Linked DNA regions of Homo sapiens: region 2 is linked to region 1. The links are contacts of gene promoters, found by promoter capture Hi-C in human tissues and cell types (Jung and others, 2019). All regions are on one chromosome and are shown on one strand. Each heading gives the region's core, a stretch centred on a gene start or on the middle of the fragment in contact. The rest is flanking DNA. Distances are from core to core; before and after follow the strand shown. Region 1 holds the start of GGCX (gamma-glutamyl carboxylase). Region 2 overlaps KCMF1 (potassium channel modulatory factor 1).

What was found. Contacts are between HindIII fragments. The study calls those that stand out against the background at their distance.
Region 2: a contact is called between a fragment that was not itself captured here and the fragment with the promoter of GGCX in region 1, in 1 of the 25 tissues and cell types used here (IMR-90 fibroblasts).

The regions. Positions count from the first base shown.
Region 1 is chr2:85,559,819-85,564,710 of GRCh38, forward strand. It overlaps GGCX (gamma-glutamyl carboxylase), which reads right to left and starts at 1,675. Exons shown (of 15, transcript NM_000821.7): 1 at 1,568-1,675; 2 at 997-1,167. The coding sequence starts at 1,610. RefSeq lists an enhancer at 1,649-1,878. The HindIII fragment of the contact is 7,250 bases long and covers 1-3,509 here.
Region 2 is chr2:85,056,000-85,060,867 of GRCh38, forward strand. It overlaps KCMF1 (potassium channel modulatory factor 1), which reads left to right. Exons shown (of 7, transcript NM_020122.5): 7 at 1-3,473. Among named protein-coding and RNA genes, the nearest start is that of LINC01964, 8.9 kb to the right of the region's middle. The HindIII fragment of the contact is 4,482 bases long and covers 256-4,737 here.

The DNA of each region.
Region 1 (4,892 bases), core at 425-2,924:
GGAATAAACAGAAGAGGCTACTCAGATCAGGAAGCCAGCTTGAGATAAAGCAGGGTTTCTCAACTTCAGGACTAGTCACATTTTGGGCTGGTTAATTATTTATTGAGGGGATTATCCAATGCACTACAGGACATTTAGGAGCACTCCCTGACCTCTATAGAGATGCCAGCAGCCACCTATTCTTCCTCCCCCAAGTTGTGACAACTAAAAATGTCTCTAAACATTGCCAAATGTCTCCCAGGGAGCAAAACTCCCTCCAGTTGAGAACTACTGGGCTAAGGGGACTAATATCTCTGCACATCTGTAAACCATTCCAAGCACACCATGCTGCGGCCTCAGTTAAGAAGCTCTTGATTAGGGAGTCACAGCCAAAAGGTATGGTCCCTGTGGCCCCCTGCTCTGTTTCTCTGAGTCTTCTGGGCAACTTCATGCCACAAGCAAAATGGGTCACTGCTGCCTCGCCTCTACATATCATATAGCATTTCTAGCTGGGTACGGTGGCTCACACCTGTAATCCCAGCACTTTGGGAGGCCGAGGCAGGCGGATCACCTGAGGTCAGGAGTTTGAGACCAGCCTGGCCAACATGGTGAAACCCCGTCTCTACTAAAAACACACATACAAAAAAAATAAAAAATTAGCCGGGTGTGGTGGTGGGCGCCTGTAATCCCAGCTACTCGGGAGACTGAGGGAGGAGAATCGCTTTAACCCGGGTGGCGGAGGTTACAGTGAGCCGAGATAGCGCCATTGCACTCCAGCTTGGGCAACAAGAGCGAAAGTCCGTCTAAGGAAAAAAAAAAAAGCATTTCTGGCCACCAAGTAAATCCTAACTGTAGGAGACAAAGCAGGTTTAATCCTAAACTTCGCAAAGACCTCTTCTTTTATACCAATGTCTTCAGCTCTGAGGAAAAGGGAGCTAAGTCTACTTGCAACCAAAAAATAGAGATTGTCATTCTCCACTCTCAACCAAATTGCTCCCACCCATAAACTGGACTCACCAAAAAGAAAACGAAAGACAGCTAAGCTTGCAGGGTCCGTTGGTCGATTCAGCAGGGTCACCAGCCTCCGCCAACTGGACAAATCTGTCCACTCAAAACCCAAGAGTTTCCCTATTCGGCTGTCCTGCCTGGGCCCTGAGATCAGTTCAGCCTTGTCTTTCTGTACTTTATCTGCAATCAATAAATGGAGAAAATATGTGTGCGGGGGTGGGCTCCACCTCAAATCAAAGAAATCACTGCACCAACAGCTCAGAGCTTCCGCCCACCCGGGTCGGCTCAATGAGGTTGCCTCAATGATCTGACTATAGGAAACATCCCTGCAGTGCAGCCCCCTCTCCACGATCCCCTAATGTCCCAGAACCCCTCAGACTACAGTCCCCTAACCGCAGTGTTCCCGAATGTCATCATCATTCAGAAGCCGCAGGCTGCAAATGTCTCACAGCACGCCCCCTTCCCCACAGAGGACCCCCCCCCCGCCTCACCGGGAGACACTGGGCGTCCTCCCGCCCCCGCCCCTCTGAGACCAGCGCTCCTAGGAACTCTCCGCCGGAGGGCGGGGTCCTAAGCCTACCTGAGCTGGGCGAGGTCCGCGCGGACCCGGCAGACACCGCCATTGCTCTGCGGAGGAGGCAGGTGGGTCACAGCTGCCGCGTCTGAACGGAGGCCGCCAGGAGAATTTGCTTCCCTAGGCTCCGCCTCCCGACGCGTCAGCGGCTGTGCGGCCGGCCGCAAAGCGCCAGCACTGTCGTAAATACTACCCACGACCGGCGGCGCCGGATTCCTTGCTTGGCGGCAGGGGGCGGAACAAGGAGCCTTGGAGCGGGGCAAAGGTACCCCTTAGTGCCGTTGATCTCCAGGGGCATTGTTAGACTCGCCTGTTATGCCTTCCGAGGGGGCCTCTGCTTTTTAAACACTGAAAAGAGTCTGAGTTCCCCAACTTCCTTGGGTCCTCCCCGACCCCATTAGTCCTCTCCGTCCCTGCGTCCCTGCGGTGCTCTCTGGTGTGAGGGATCGGGCGCAAAGGGCAAACTTTTTGTCAGAGTGACGCCGAGTTGAGGACGCGCCTGGAAATGTTGCCTGGGTTTTGAGCCATTGCACGACCCCTTCACTTTCTTTTCCAGGACCTGCAAAGAACCGAGGTTTCAAAGCAGTAGGGGCCGGGCACTGCTCTCGCTTGTAATCCCAACAGTTTGGAAGGCCAATGCGGGAGGATCGATAAAGAAAAAAAAAAAAGGCAACAACAAAAAAAGAAAAAACACTAAAAAAAAAGTTAGCTGTGTGTCGTGGCGCGCTCCTGTGGTTTCAGCTACTCGGGAGGCTGAGGTGGGAGGTTCGCTTGAGCCCAGTAGTTCGAGGCTGCAGGGAGCTGTGATCGCACCACTGCACTCCAGCCTGGGGGACACAGTGAGACCCCGTCTCAAAAAAAAAAAAAAAAAAAAACAAGCCGGGTGCGGCAGCAAGCCTGTAATCCCAGCACTTTGAGAGGCCAAGGCGGGCGGATCACTTGAAGTCAGGAGTTAAAGACCAGCCTGGCCAACATGGTGAAACCCCGTCTGTACTAAAAATACAAAAATAATCCGGGCATGGTGGCGTGCGCCTGTAATCCCAGCTACTCGGGAGGCTGAGGCAGGAGAATCGCTTGAACCTAGGAGGCGGAGGTTGCAGTGAGCCAAGATCGCGCTACTGCACTCCAGCCTGGGCGACAGAGTGAGACTCCGTCTCAAAAAACAAAAAACGAAAAAGAAAGAGAAAGAAAAGAAAAGGCGGGAAGAAAAGAAAGAAAGAAAATTAAAAGCAGCCAGGGAAACAGGAACAACATAACTGAAGAGGGGATACAGAGCAAGGGCAGTGAGTAGAGTGTGGCCCATCAGGGAAGGTTCTCAGAGGTGAGTCTGGAGCAGAATTAAATACCTAAATCTCTCCACTGGGATTAGCCAGCAGGAAAAGAAGAAGGCATCCCAGAGAAGCGGTTCTCAAACAGTTGGGTCTTGGGAACCATTTACAGTGTTAGAAATTATAGAAGACCCTAAAAGCTTTGTTTATGTGGATTATATCTTTCAATATTTGCCGTATTAGAAATTTTTTTGGCCGGGCGCGGTGGCTCACGCCTGTAATCCCAGCACTTTGGGAGGACGAGGCGAGTGGATCACGAGGTCAGGAGATCGAGACCATCCTGGCTAACACGGTGAAACCCCGTCTCTACTAAAAATACAAAAAATTATCCGGGCGTGGTGGCAGGCGCCTGCAGTCCCAGCTACTCGAGAGGCTGAGGCAGGAGAATGGCGTGAACCCAGGAGGTAGAGCTTGCAGTGAGCCGAGATCGCACCACTGCCCTCCAGCCTGGGCGACAGAGCAAGACGCCGTCCTGAAAAAAAAAATTTTTTTTTTTGAGGCCAGGCGCGGTGGCTCACGCCTGTAATTCCAGCACTTTGGGAGGCCGAGGCGGTTGGATCACTTAAGGTCAGCAATTTGAAATCAGCCTCGCCAACATGGTAAAACCCCGTCTCTACTAAAAATACAAAAAAAATGAGCCGGGTGTGGTGGCAGGCGTCTATAATCCCAGCTACTCAGAAGGCTGAGACAGGAGAATCACTTGTACCCGGGAGGTGGAGGTTGCAGTGATCCAAGATCGAACCACTGCACTCCAGCCTGGGTGACAGAGTAAGACTCTGTCTCAAAAAAAAAAAAAAAAAAAAAAGGCCGGGCACGGTGGCTCACACCTGTAATCCCAGCACTTTGGGAGGCTGAGGCAGGTGGATCACAAAGTCAGGAGTTCGAGACCAGCTTGACCAATACGGTGAAACCCCGTCTTTACTAAAAATACAAAAATTAGCCGGGTGTGGTGGCACGTGCCTGTAATCCCACCTACTGGGGAGGCTGAGGCAGGAGAATCGGTTGAACCCGGGAGGCAGAGGTTGCAGTGATCCCAGATTGCGCCACTGTACTCCAGCCAGGGTGAAAGAGCAAGACTCCATCTCAAAAAAAAAAAAAAGCTTTCTAACTTCTACTACAAAGGAAAAAAAATGGCATGTTTCTGTAGTCTCAGCTATTCCCAGCTTTTCTGGAGGCTGAAGCAAGACAATCACTTTAGTTCAGGAGTTTAAGACTAGCCGGGGCAACATAATGGGATCCATCTCAAGGAAAAAAAAAAAAAGCTATCAAGCCATTAGAAAACATGGAGGAACCTTAAATTCATATTGCTAAGCGAAAGAAATCAATGTGGAAAGACTACAAACTATGATTCCATCCATATGACATATATATATGTATTTTTTTGAGTCAAGGTCTTGCTATGTTGCCCAAGATGGTCTTAAACTTCTGGTCTCAAGCAATCCTCCTGCTCAGCCTTCCAAAGTGCTGGGATTACAGGCATGAGGCAGTGCGTTTGGCCCCAACTGTATGATATTCTGAAAAGGCTAAACTATGGAGATAATAAAAAGATCAGTGACTGCCAGGGAAGTGGAGTTGGGGGGAGGAAGGGATGGTAGGTGGAGCACAGGGGAGTTTTACAGAAGTGAAACTATTTTGTATGATGTAATAGTGTCATGGTGGATACATGTCATACTTGTGTGTGGAAAAGAGTAAAGCCTAATGTAACTTATGGACTTAGTTAATTATAATGTATCAATATGGACTATGTTTTTTTGTTTGTTTGTTTTTTGAGACGGAGTTTCCCCCTTGTTGCCCAGGCTGGAGTGCAATGATGCGATCTCGGCTCACTGCAACCTCTGCCTCCCAGTTTCAAGCGATTCTCCTGCCTCAGCCTCCTGAGTAGCTGGGATTACAGGCACCCGCTTCCACGCCCAGCTAATTTTTTGTATTTTTAGTAGAGATGGGTTTTCACTATGTTGACCAGGCTGGTCTTGAACTCCTGACCTCAGGCGATCCACCCGCCT
Region 2 (4,868 bases), core at 1,247-3,746, 500 kb before region 1:
TCAGCTCTGAACAAGTAGAAATAACTGTGCTTCCTTGTATGGCTGCAATCATAAGACAGAATTTCTGTGGTTGGCTACCGTGAAATCTTTGTATTTATATTGCATTGTTTTGTTAAAAAAAAAAAAATCCACAGAAGTAGAACCTAGGTTTGCTACTAACAAAGTAGTGGATTCTTATAATTAGGCTCAGGTAAAGTAAGAGAAAACTTCTCTCCCTGTGGCCCCCAGAGAAATGAAGTAGGATAGCAGATTACACTATTAGAAATAATAGACGTAACAAAAAAAATCCAGCCCATTATCCCCACCCCCCATTTTCCCTCTCAATATTAGAAATTTCAATAATATGCTGACAGATTTTCAAAGGTCACCAAGGCTTTTGTGTTTTTTTCCGGTCTGTGGGCCACAGTTAAAAGAACGGGTAACAGGTTCAGAGTTCTCTTGATACGTCCAAGCCTTAGTTTCCAGGAAAAAAGCTAGGCTCCTCACTGCAAATATTAACGCTTTATATATTTACTCCATGGATGTTGGGGTAAGCACATATATCAATAGTTCATAGCTCTAGTTAAGGACAAAGTGGGTTGGGGGGTAGAAGGAGAATACTAGAGAGGTTACGGTAGCAGGTGGCTGCAGAAAAGAATCTTTTGAATGGGATTCCTGTAACAGTGTTCAGTACCAATATTAAGTCTACTGTAAGTGGGGTCTGATATGGCTTACTGATACAGGCATGTGTAAAAAACTAAGTGTGATGGAGGAATGGGTGCTAAAAGCTCTTAACAGTTTTGTAGAGAAGCCCTGCAGCCGTGTTTACTATATATGACATGCCTGTTTCTTAGTTTGCATGCACAGTTTAAGGGGCACATGCAATATTGGTTTCATGTGCAGTAAAAATTAAAACACGGCTGAGCGTGGTGGCTCACGCCTGTAATCCCAGCACTTTGCGAGGCCGAGGCGGGTGGATCACGAGGTCGAGTTTGAGACCATTTTGGCCAGCATAGTGAAACCCCATCTCTACTAAAAAATACAAAAAGTTAGCTGGGCATGGTGGCAGGCACCTGTAATCCCAGCTACTCGGGAGGCTGAGGCAGGAGAATCGCTTGAACCTGGGAGGCAGAGGTTGCAGTGAGCTGAGATCACGCCGCCATTGCACTCCAGCCCGGGCGACGGTGCAAGACTCTGTCTCAAAAAAAAAAAAAATTAAAACACTAGGTACGAAATTATCCCAGAATTATACGCGAAAGTTGGTGTTCATGCTGGAAAACAGTTACGGTTATCTGTGCTCTTTCTAAAGCTCAACTAGACACTAAAACAGTTCTCTCCTTGAGACCGGAAGTGGGATGGGGGTGGGCAGGTGGAAGGGAAGAGGCTGGGGAGGAGCCTCTCATCTCATCTCATTTCAGCCTCAACAGTAATTGAAACCCTATGCCTGGCCTGGAGTGGGTAGAGGTTAGGGTTAGAGTGCAGGATGGAGCAGCAGTCTGCAGACTTTCAGGTTGTGACGATGTCATGAAATTCTGTGCTATTAAACATGGCTATGTCTGAGTCAGTCATTACGGTATTCCAAAGCCAAATTCAAGTGACTGTTTTTCTGAATAGTATAAAAATCTAATTCCCTGTGCTTATCGGCTTCAACTGTGCTTACACAACGTTTGTTTCTAATTCGTACTCTTGCCTCTTGGTTTCTGTAGTTTTTCAACCCATTTCTGTCAGTGTTCTATAAATGCATACATTCGTTATTTAAGGAACCCTGCAGCAGACCTCGAATAAAATGTGACTTGATGTTTGTTGCCACTTCCTCAACTTGGTTAGCAAATTCAAGTTTTGAAAGACGATTCGTCTCAGAGAAGTTGATCCTGAACCTCCACGTCACATTTTAGTCGGTTGCTATTAGGTGGGTAATGCCTAATAACATGGGTTCCTCAAATCACAAAGGAGAATGCTCTCAAGTCCTCATGTTAACTTTAGTAAGTCAGTTAACTTTACAGCAACTAAAGAGATCAATTAAAAAGAACCCTTAAGTCTGACTGTCCCAGGTAACTTTACTTGCTGTACAGATAGTGCACAGATATGGATGAGGGCTGCACATGGCTGATTTGAAAACCCATGTGGGGCCGGGTGTGGTGGCTCACGCCTGTAATCCCAGCACTTTGGGAGGCCAAGGCGGGTGGATCACGAGGTTAGTTCAGGACCAGCCTGGCCAAGATGGTGAAACCCCATCTCTACTAAAAATACGAAAATTAGCTGGGCTTGGTGGCAGATGCCTGTAATTCCTGCTACTCGGGAGGCTGAGGCAGAGAATTGCTTGAACCCGGGAGGCGGAGGTTGCAGTGAGCCGAGATTGCGCCACTGCACTCCAGCCTGGGCGACACAGTGAGACTCTCCTCAAAACAAAAAAAAAAGAAAGAAAACCCATGTGGGCCGCATGTGCACAGCCTGGGGCTGCTTTCCACAGGCCTGGATAATGATGTTTCTCTTCAAGGAGGCCTTTACTAACCACAGGGAACCTAGCATCTGACTGTGTCCTTGGCAGACAGTGCATGTAGCCTGTAGAATGTTGGCTCCTCTGTCTATAGAAACCATCAGTTCGCTGCTCTCTCATTCATACATACTTTTTGAGTTCCCAGTAGGTACGAAGCTTTGTCTAAACATTATTTACCAACTGCGATTTTTACAGACTTCCCCTGTAAGAATTTTCTAAAAGAGCCTTTCTCCCTTACACAATTGAAACGTTTTCAAAGGTCATCAAGCCGGTTGCGTTTGGTCAGTCACGTGACCAATCAGAGCTGGTGAGTGAGCTGCTCCCTTAAATCTACCAAATTAGACTGACAGCATTTGGAATCTGCCTCACACATAAGAGATCCATATTCATTTAATAGTGAAGCCAGCCCAGAAGCATCCTCTTCTGTAAGCTGGATGGAGTCCCAGCTCTCTCTCCTTGTATATAAGGAGACCACACCCTGTATATAAGGTTTTCTTGAGGTAGATGCAGCAATATTCCTGGGGTAAGATTCTATAATACTCCTGTATTGGCAAGTGGACTGGACCAACAGACACAGGCCTCAGCCACTGTCGCTAGGGACTGAAGGAGAGTTCATGGATTCTTACCCCCTAGTCATGAAAGCTATTCTGGCCAGCCTTGAATCCATTTAATTTTGCCCACGAGAACCTTTCATGACAATTAACAAGACACTAGTTTCCCCATAAAAGTCCATTTTTAAATATATAGTATGCTAATTAGCAGTGTCTGTTGAATTGCCCTATCGGATAGCAGCCACCATGTGTGCTGACCACTCACGATTCAGACTTACCTTGGAAAATATCACACTGACGATACAGTACTTTAGAATAAATTGCATATTGTATCAGGCTCCGAGACTAATTTGTACTGAACCCTTGATATAGATTACCTTTTATAACATCACCACCTGTCATGAAGCTTATCTGTTTTCTGATTTGAATAAACTTTGTGTTGTGCACCTCAGTTTCCATTGCATTCACTGAGATAGCTGAGTGTGACTTCAGTGTTGTGTCATCTTAAGATGTCAGTAATGTTCAACACAGACTTGGTCATCTGTGGCACTGGTGTTTCGGCATTTCTATAGTTTTTGTTTTGTTTTGTTTTTTGAGATGGAGTTTTGCTCTTGTTGCCCAGGCTGGAGTGCAGTGGCACTATCTCGGCTCACTGCAATCTCCGCCTTCTGGGTTCAAATGATTCTCCTGCCTCAGCCTCCCAAGTAGCTGGGATTACAGATGTGTGCCACCACGCCCAGCTACTTTTTTGTATTTTTAGTATTTTGTATTTTGTATTTGTATTTTTAGTAGAGACGGGGTTTCACCATGTTGGTCAGGCTGGTCTCAAACTCCTAACCTCAGGTGATCCACCTGCCTCGGCCTCCCAAAATGCTGGGATTACAAGCGTGAGCCACCACACCTGGCCTCATTTCTATAGTTTTAAATCCCCTGTGAAATACCATTACTCCTATTGTCCCTGTCTGCGTCCTCTCCTGTTTCTGTGTGTGTGTGTGTGTGTGTGTGTGTGTGTGTGTGTGTGTGTGTTTTATTAATGCTTCCAGTGACATCTGCAGTTTCAGTTCCATTTGCCTACGGAATTTTCAGGACCACCCTGGTTACCACTGTTGCTGGTGTCTGAGCCTGAGGGGTGAACATGTGGCCTCTCTCCTCAGTCCAGAAAAGGACTTTGGAATACTGATTCTACTTACAGCTTCACAGGGCAAGACTAGAAAGAAGGACTTGAGAAGGAGCCCCCTGAACTTCAGCATGAACATAAGCCCCACCCACTCAGGACCGGAAGGGACAAGACTTGTTCCTTATCCATTTTTTTTTTCCCTCTTCAGAGTTCCTGTTGGCTTTTGGTGGTTGTTTTTCCCCATTTTGAACACTCAACTGCCTCTAGCCAATGGCAGGGTTTTTTTTGTTTTGTGTGTTTGTTTGGTGTTTGTTTGTTTTGTTTTTGAGACGGAGTCTCACTCTGTCGCCCATGCTGGAGTGCAGTGGCGCAATCTCGGCTCACTGCAACCTCCACCTCCCGGATTCAAGCGATTCTTCTGCCTCAGCTTCCTGAGTAGCTGGGACTACAGGCCCGCGCCACCACATCCAGCAAATTTTTTGTTTTTTAGGAGAGACGGGGTTTCACTATGTTGGCCAGGCTGGTCTCATACTCCTCACCTCAGGTGATCCGCCCACCTCAGCCTCCCTAAGTGCTGGGATTACAGGAATGAACGACCGTGCCCGGCCAAGCCAATGGCAGGTTTAAAAGCAAGTAGTGAAAATTACCTTTTAGTATCTACCTGAACAAATGCCTTTCACTCCAGCCTAGGGCTCTAGGGTTGTCCCCCAAGTCACTGTGTTCT